Regions from separate parts of the Homo sapiens genome. Here regions 1 and 2 are each linked to region 3. Evidence: promoter capture Hi-C in 16 types of primary human blood cells and fetal thymus (Javierre and others, 2016). All regions are on one chromosome and are shown on one strand. Each heading gives the region's core, a stretch centred on a gene start or on the middle of the fragment in contact. The rest is flanking DNA. Distances are from core to core; before and after follow the strand shown.

Evidence for each region. Contacts are between HindIII fragments. The CHiCAGO score rates a contact against its expected background, and 5 or more counts as called.
Region 1: a contact is called between a fragment that was not itself captured here and the fragment with the promoter of KIF26A in region 3, in 2 of 17 cell types (endothelial precursors and naive CD4 T cells). The highest score is 7.3, in endothelial precursors.
Region 2: the fragment with the promoter of INF2 here is called in contact with the fragment with the promoter of KIF26A in region 3 in 1 of 17 cell types (erythroblasts); the score reaches 5.3 in erythroblasts.

The regions. Positions count from the first base shown.
Region 1 is chr14:104,658,564-104,661,263 of GRCh38, reverse strand. It overlaps LINC02280 (long intergenic non-protein coding RNA 2280), which reads left to right. Exons shown (of 2, transcript NR_135293.1): 2 at 1-144. Among named protein-coding and RNA genes, the nearest start is that of LINC02280, 5.6 kb to the left of the region's middle. RefSeq lists enhancers at 802-1,396, 1,397-1,991, 2,692-2,700. The HindIII fragment of the contact is 936 bases long and covers 843-1,778 here.
Region 2 is chr14:104,688,255-104,690,954 of GRCh38, reverse strand. INF2 (inverted formin 2) reads right to left here and starts at 1,337. Exons shown (of 23, transcript NM_022489.4): 1 at 1,216-1,337. RefSeq lists silencers at 824-873, 964-1,203, 1,224-1,313, 1,414-1,673 and enhancers at 1,366-2,355, 2,356-2,700. The HindIII fragment of the contact is 13,120 bases long and covers 1-2,700 here.
Region 3 is chr14:104,137,203-104,139,902 of GRCh38, reverse strand. KIF26A (kinesin family member 26A) reads right to left here and starts at 1,316. Exons shown (of 15, transcript NM_015656.2): 1 at 1,139-1,316; 2 at 615-860. The coding sequence starts at 1,180. KIF26A-DT (KIF26A divergent transcript) reads left to right here and starts at 1,274. Exons shown (of 3, transcript NR_158217.1): 1 at 1,274-2,373; 2 at 2,661-2,700. RefSeq lists a silencer at 2,148-2,317 and an enhancer at 2,014-2,700. The HindIII fragment of the contact is 14,398 bases long and covers 1-2,700 here.

The sequences.
Region 1 (2,700 bases), core at 61-2,560, 520 kb before region 3:
CCTCACACAGTCATCTGCCATCATTTGCAGATCACATGTCAGCTTACTTAGCAAGCCTAACAGAACGGACAGGAAAACGTAATGTTATAAACACATAATTCTCCCCAGAGAATTATGGGGACATAATAAATTCAATGCAATTCTAATTGGAGTCTCATTTGGGCTTCAATTTTTTTTTAAAGAAATAAATAAATGTAGTCTACATTTTACATGGAAGAATACAGATCAAAAGCAGCTAAGATGGCTTGAGAAAGAAGAAAACAGACAGGGTGTTTGCGCCTACAAAGCCGGGTAACTGAAAGCAGCAGTGGAAGAGGCTGGGCCCGTGGAGGGAGACCCAGGCTGCACGGGGTAGGACGGAGGGCTCTGCCGGGCATTTCCTCCTGGCCCCCCCGGGGAGCTGAGGTGTGCGTAATTAGTACTTGTGCTTGGTGGGGAGGAAGTGAGAGCAGAGGGCGCTGGGCCACTGCTTCTCACTTTCTGGGACCCCAGCATCCCCAGGCAGGAGCGTCCCTGTCCTGGCAGGCAGGTCTTGGGCCTCAGGTCTGAACATCTGAATATCTGTGCAGCCCTGCCAGGGCCCCTCTCGGTCCTGCAGGCTCCTGGCGCTGGCTGGGGCACAGGGAGCCCTGAAGACGCCTGGGGGTCTGTGGGTGCTGCAGGCACCGCTGGCTGGTTATAGTCGCAACAGCCCCCAGGTGGGCAATTTTCCTTCCACTTCACAGTGGAGGAAACGGGTTCTGAGAGGTAGCAGCTTTCCCAAGTGCAGGGGGGTGGGGGCAGGACTTGAACCCAGATCCCTGAGAATCTGAACCCAGGCCTCTGCTCTTGCTCTCCAAGCTTCCAGACAGAGAAGGAGAGTGGGTGGCGACGGCCATCGGGAGGGGCTCCAGACGGAGGACCGGGCAAGTGAGCGCCTGGTGGGCGGCCTGGGGCGGAGGCACCCAGGGAGCCCAAATCGGGGCACCTGGGAGGAGGAAGTTCCCAGAGGACTGCAGACCCTGCAGCTGTGCCTCCGAGGTCAGAACCGCCCACGCCCGCCAGGCAGGACGTGCGGCTCCTGGCCGCAGCTGTCAGGGAGGAAATTCACGTCTCAGCTGAGGTTTAAGAGGCATCTGACCCTCTGCTAAAAATACTCGGGCAGCGTGGGTCCGGTGGAGTTGGCTGTGGGGTGCGTCTGGGTGGGGGTCCCAGCGAGGCCAGAACAGGCGCCAGCGACCTGCAGAGCGGTGCAGTGCGGTGGGGCTTGTGGATGCCGGGCCTGCAGACCAGCTCCATGGGAGAAACTGGGGCGGGGTAGGGAAGGCGCGGTGAGTCGCCGGCCCGCGGAGCCCCCGTTTGTGCCCTCGCTGGCAAACTGTGAAGCCCGTGCAAGGCGGGAGAGGCCGTGGGCTGGCGGGAACCTGGGCGTCCTGGGCTGCCCAGAACGTGCTGCCTCAGTTTACCCAGCTTTACCATGCAGAGGCCAACCTCGCCCCTCCCTTTCTCACCAGTGGTCAGTAAGATTCGGGTGGTGTTGGACATCACCTGAACAGATGTGGAGGTGGAGGGGGGTTGAGGTGTAGGCAGGGGCTGTGGAGCACCCTGGGGGGGCAGGTGTTGGACACTGGGGTCCCGGAATCAGGCCCTGTGATCTCAGGGAGGCTCACCTGGCTTCTGGTTCCCAATCCCCTTCTGGGTGAGTGGACGTGCACCCCTCCCCCAGTGCAGAGGGCTTGTTGGGGTACTCTGCAGGTCTTTTCTCCCCACAGCAGGGGTGGAGTAGGAGAAGGGAAGCTTCGGAGGGAGGGGCTCTGGGCTGGGAAGGAGGGAGGGTCTGAGAAGCAGGGAGCCCTGGGACTGGTTGGGGCGGGTCACTCTGACACGGATCTCACTGTGGAGGGGGTGATGTTGCTGAGACCTGCATGGGTCCGGGCTTCCAGTGGCCCCACCAGAATCCAGGGCCACCAGGGTGGGGGGTGCTGGTGGTTTCTGAGTACCTTCCCACACTGCCCCCATGGCAGACCCCTCCCAGCAGATCCCAAACATTCCCCACTATGCAGGGGAAGGGTGAAGCCACATTCCCCACTACTCAGGGGAAGGGTGGAGCCCCCTTCCTCTGGGACCACCCGCCTGGAGTCACCTCCTCTGGGCCTGCATATCCCTCCCGGGGAGGGACAGAAAGGAAGGTGGCAGCTGGAGGGCTTCCAGAGACCACCGACCAGCACCGGGCAGACAGGAAGACTCTGGAAGTCAAGCTATGACTTTTTTTGAGACAGGGTCTCGCTTTGCCACCCAGGCTGGAGTGCGGTGGTGCGATCTCAGCTCACTGCAACCTCCATCTCCTGGGCTCAAGTGATTCTCCTGCCTCAGCCTCCCAAAGTGCTGGGATTATCTGCATGAGCCACCGCTCCCAGCCTAAAGGGGACATTTTCATTGTCAGTTTCTTAATTTCCACTTTAGAGGGCAGGAAACTAAATCAGCCAGTTTGGTCCAATGGCAGGGGTTTGGGCCCCTTCTGAGGGCAGCCTGCTCTTCAATTGTGGGGGCTGCCTCAGGGGGCCTTTGGTTTCGCATTGATGGGATGGCTGTACCACTCATCTTCCAAACCAGGACAGCTTTGAGAGAGAAACAGGTACCAGTGACGCCAGGACACCAGGGGTGGTGCAGCGCACCTGCAGAGCTGAGCCAGGCTCCGTCGTGGGCGGATGCGCCACCGGC
Region 2 (2,700 bases), core at 88-2,587, 550 kb before region 3:
CTGCCCTGGTAGGGGTGGGAGCAGTGTGAGGTCTCAGACCCCAGGCCTGGAACCCAATGCTACTATTTGCTGCACTGGGGGCTGAGCACCGACACCCCAAAAGCCCCTGGCTGGGTGGCACCCTCGGGGTCTGAGGCACTGCTCTGGGACCCCACCTTCCCAGTGCAGGGCGGCAGGGAGCAGGTCCCAGCCTGAGCTGCTGTCCCACCCTTCAGAGTGCAGATGTGGAAACTGAGGCCGGAAGAGGGCGAGTATCCTGCTCCATTCCAGTGCCAGACGGAGGGGCAGGGCTGGCAGTAAGGGAATTTCCTACGTCCAGCGCCTTCTGGGTGTGCCTGACCTCTGGCCCGGTTCCTGGGTTCCTGGTTCCCTGCCTGGGCAGGGTCTCTGCCTCTCTGCCTCCTGGTGTGTCCAGCTGGAGTGGGCAGTAATGCTGTGGTCACAGCTGAGCTGCGGGAGCCCTGGGTGGGGAGCTTGAGCCCCAGAAGGCCCAGACAGACAGACCACCCCCCACGCCTGTGCTCCCCAGGGGGCATTGGGGACGGTCAGGGACACAGCTGGTCACCCCGCCTTCCCCTCCTTAGTCATGGTCACTCCTGGGGCGACTCCCCAGTTAGAGGGTTGACGGGTGGGTCTGGGGGCGTACAGGGATTGGATCCTACCCCACCCAAAAGGAACAGAGAGCTGTGATGGAGGCTGATTCCCCTAAGCCTGCCAGCGGTTGCGGGGTGGGAAGGGCTCCCTGTGCGCCCACCTGCGCGTGGGCAGCTGGAAGCCAAGCAGTCAGGGTGGGGCCGCAGGCCGGCGCGCACCTCGGGGTGCCACCCGGGCGGCGGACCCGAAGTTGAAGTTTATTTTCCCAACTGTGGCTGATTCATGGTCAGGATGTGGCAGCCGCGAGGCGCGGAAATCCCGCCTGCCCTGGGAGTAGGCCCGGCCGACCCTGGGCCCACCACTCTGCGGCCAGTGCGCGCTCGGGCGGTGCCTCGGCGCGGAGGACCATAGTCCCGAGCGGGGCGCGCGGAGCCGGGGGGGCCAGGGGCGCCCTGGGGTCCCCGCCCGGGAACTGTACCCTGCGCCGCCGGACCGCCCGCCGCCACCTGGGCACACACGCCGCAGCCCGGAACCTCGCTCCTGGACCCAAGCACGCCCCTGCCTCCTCCCGGACTCAGTTTCCCCTGAAGCTCCAAGCGGACCCCGAGGCCAAGGACTTACCCGGTGAGGCAACGGCCAGAGGGCGGTGGTGCGGCCGGCGCTCCGTCCGGGGCCGGGTCAGGGGCTGCGGGCAGCCGGCGCCCACTGCCGCGCTCCGCAAGGCTCGGACGGTGGCTCCTGGCGGGCGCGGGGCGGGCGGGGCGGGCGGGAGGAAGAGGAGGTGCCGCCCCGCCCGTCAGCGGCCACGTGGGGAGCGAGCGCGGGCCGGGGGCGGGGCCTGGGGGGGGAGGTGGGTGGCTGGGGGTGGCCCCGCCCACTGTGGCCGGTCCCTGAGGGCGCTTTAAGGGGTCTCCCCACTCCCGTGAATAACCTGGCCGCCCCCTCGCGGTCCCTGCTGGCCTGGCTCCTGGTGGGCGGAGATGGGGGTGGGACGCGCAGATCGGGGCCGTCTCCCGCCTCAGCCCCCACTGTCCGCCCCGTCCCTGCCCTCCACCGCCTCCCGTCCACCTACACCCCTATCCTCCGGTGGGACTGGCCTCCCAGGCGCCGCTCACCTCTCTCTGCCCCGGCCCGGGACTCCCGTTCCAGCCAGCCGGATCCGGAGTCCCCGCGTTCGGGGATCCCTCAGCAGAGATGGCTCTTCCCAGGCTTTGGGGAGAGAGAGCCTACCCATCAACCAGGCCACCCATGTGGCCTCCTCTCCGCAGCCCTGCCTGACCCCCTTCCACCCTTGATGGGGTCTCGGCGGTCTTGGGCAGCCGCACTTCGCCGGTTGGTGGAGACAGCTGCATGAGGGCCGCGGAGGTGTCGCAATGGGGTGGGTTTTCTCTGCCACCCCTCTGCTGTCCGGCCTCATCTGTCTCCTAGATTGAGGGGGGCACCCATCCCCCCACCGCCGACATTGACCAGCATGGGGCGTGCCCATAGTCGGCTCTGAAAGCCAGCCTGGTTGGATGAGAGCCAGACCCCAGCTCTGGAAGTCCCTTCTGACGTCTGACCCTCAGTCAGAGCTGCAGGAAGCAGCGCACCAGGCCTGGGGTTTGGGGGCCACTGGCAGCTAGAGGGAGGGCAGAGGAAGGCAGGCCTGGGGGAGCCCCCGTGTGACATGTGACAGAGCAGACACAACCCCTGCCCTGAGAACCGGCGCCAGCACTCCCTGTGCGGCCTCAGGCTCGGATATGACTCTGTGGAGCCTCAGTTTCCCCATCTGTAAAATAGAATAAGTACCCGTAAGGGCTGTATGAGGGTCAAGAACATGCGGATAAAGTGTCTCCACTCGGAGTCCTGACATCTCTCTCCGGAGGGCCTGCTGTGTGGGCCGTGGCGGCCAGGGCTCAGGGTGAGGGCGAGGGGAGAGAAAAGGGCTCCTGAATGGCTTCCCAGCCCCGATGCAGCTTCTGCTTTGAGGCCAGCTGCGTGTCCTTTGGCTTTGGTGTGCCTCCGCTCCGGTGGGGATAAGCGCCGAATTGCAGGCTGCGTCTGTCTGCTCCCTGTGCGGACCTTGCCCTGCCCAGCAGCCCCAGCCCCGGAAGTTTGCTGGCTCAG
Region 3 (2,700 bases), core at 67-2,566:
CCCTGGGGCTGGAGCCTGGGGAACCCAGAGGGCCCCGACTCAATTCCCCATGGGCGGCCACTGCCTCAGTCTATCCCAGGAGGTATGGGACAACAGTTCTTATCCTTGAGGCTGGGAGAGGAGTAGGCAGGGACCCCCCAGCTGCTGTGGCCCACCCTTTCACCTGCCAGGCCCCCCGGCCCCAGGTATGTAATTTCCAGACACCTGGCTGGGGGCCCAGGTGCCCCAAGGGCCACAATGCACCAAATAACCTCTCCCTGCTGGTAGGGCTGGAGCTGTCCCGCCCTGGGTGGAGTCCCTGCCATCCGCTCTCTCCCCTCCTCCTCCCACACAAACCTGCGTTCCAGCTGTGGGACATCTGGGCTGGGGGAGGAACGCCAGCCCAGGCCCCTCCCATCCGAGGCAGCAGGGCCCCTCGGGCTGAGCTCCCTAGCTCACACATGGTGTTACAGACCGGGAAACTGAGGCCCGCAGAAGGGAAGTCCTGGCTGATAACTCTTTGTGGAAACAGCAGCAGGGAAGGAGTGGAACCCTGCTTCCCTCCAAGCCCCAAGTTCTACCCAAGTTCGGCGTGGCCCTGCTCGGAGGGGTCGGCCTAAGGAAGTGTCACTTACCCGGAGGGTGGTCCCGGGCCCGCTGACCAGCTTCCACGCCTGTCGCTTGAGCTCCACCAGCTTCGTGTGGCAGTGGCGGCACCAGCCGCCTCCGCCGGCCGAGTGGCCCTGCTCTGGGCCGGCCCCGGCGCCTTCGGGAGCAGGGCGGCTGCCGCATGGGTCCTGGTCGGGCCCGGCGGGTAGCCTCTTTCGGGGGGACACCTCCAGCAGCGGCGGCGGCTCGCGGGCCGGGCCGCCCTCGGCCACCTGCAGGGTGTGGGGGCGGAAGCGGACAGTGAGCCTGGGACGTCCGTCGGATCCAGACCCCTGCGCGCCCTGCCCCAGCGTGACGCTCTTGCCAAAGTTAGGAGCCCTGGGCACGACCCTGGCGCTCACCCACTCCCTCCATCCCCGGAGGTCCCGCCTGCGGGTCCGCTACCCTCAGCAGGAGGCCCGGCCCCCAGGGATCCAGCGCACACCGCGAGTATCTTCGCCGTCCCGGGCCCCCGCCGCCCGCCTCCCTCTCCAGGCCGGGCCGCGCGTACCGCGGGCTGCGCAGCGCACAGAGGGACGCCGCGGCCGACCATGGCCGGGGCGCGGGAAGAGCCCGGCAGGCGCTCCCGGCCACGCTGGCTCTCCGGGGGCGCCGCGGCTACGTGATCCGGCCCCGAGGCGCCCCCATGGCCCGGCCCAGCCGCTCGGAAGTTCGCAGAGCCTGCGAGTGTCGCGAGGAGCGCGGTGGCTCCGGTGGGCGCGCTCGGGAGGCGAGGGCGGGGCCGGGGAAGGGCGGGGCTCGGGCTCCCGGGGCGGGCGGCGAGGGGCGGGAGCCCAGAGAGTGCCCCGCCCTTGCCCAGTGCTGGGCGGCGCGTGGGGGGGGTAGGGTCCCCGCTTCCCCACGCGGCCCCGCGCACTCCAAGGACCCCAACCTGTTAGGTGAGTCCCTGCCCCGGGGAGGGGCGCTGGGGGCGGCGGCGAGGATCTAGTTGCGCGCGCGCATGCGCCTCCCGCCCCTCTCCCGGGACACCAGGGCTGCGCGTCTCCCAGGAGGCGCCGACGCCCCTCCCTCTACAGGCGGGAAAACTGAGGCTGCGGAGGGGACGCTCTTGCCCAAGGCCCACGGCGAGGTGGGCCGAGGAAGGGGCGGGACCCCGGCCCCGAGACTCCCAGGCGCCTTTCCAGCAAGCCCAGCGTACTCTGCGTGTCGCGGGCCACTTTAGGTCTAACTGTCGCGCGTGGGTTAGTGTCGCCGCGGTGTGCGCCTCGAGCCGGGCAGCGACCGCGCCGGCGTATCTGTGCCTCGGCGCGTCTGCGAACGGCACGTGTCTTTACAGCCGCGCGTGTGCCCGCAAGTGGGTGTGCGCGCCGTGCCGCCCGGGAAGCGGGAGGTCCTGCGGGCGTGCGCCGGACCTGTTGTCAGCAGGCCTGGCAGATGGGAACTCAGCTCCGGAATTAATTGCTTGTTTGTCTCCGGCTGGGAGGCCGCCCCCCCGCCCTTCCCTGGCGACCAGTTGCTCTGTGCCTAGCCGGGCCCCAAATGTCGCCGGCATCCGCGGCCGCAGGCAGCTCCGGGCCAGGCTCCGGGTCAGCCCCAAAGCCCGGGTCAAGCCAGGCGGGCGCGGCGGGCGGGCTCCCCGTGACGCGAGTGCCCCCTGCCGGCCGCTGCGCACACGGCTCCGAGACTGGGGAGACAGCGCCGCGCGTCCCAGGCCTGAGGCGCACTCGGAAACTCCGAAGGTCGTGACCCGGCGGAGACCAGGACACGCGGCTGCCGGCACATACGGTGAGGCCTTCGCAGAGACTCAGTACGTCAAAGTGACCCTTTCCGTTTTGCCCACCCCCTTTTACTTGGATAAGCCTCCCCGCCCACGCACGCACTCCCCAGAAAGTGGGGTGGGTGATCCCCTCCCGGCTTTCCGGGTCGTTGATGACCTTAGGGGTTCGAAAACGCAAGGGGGTATGGAATAAAGTGGCAGGGGCTCTCCACTCTTTCTGAGATCCGTAAGCCTGCAGTCGCTTTCCACCCAGCCTGGGGGGCCGGAAGCGCTTCCCCTACCCGTCTCTTCGCAGCCTGGAGAATGAAAACGGGCGTCAGCCCACATCTGGATCT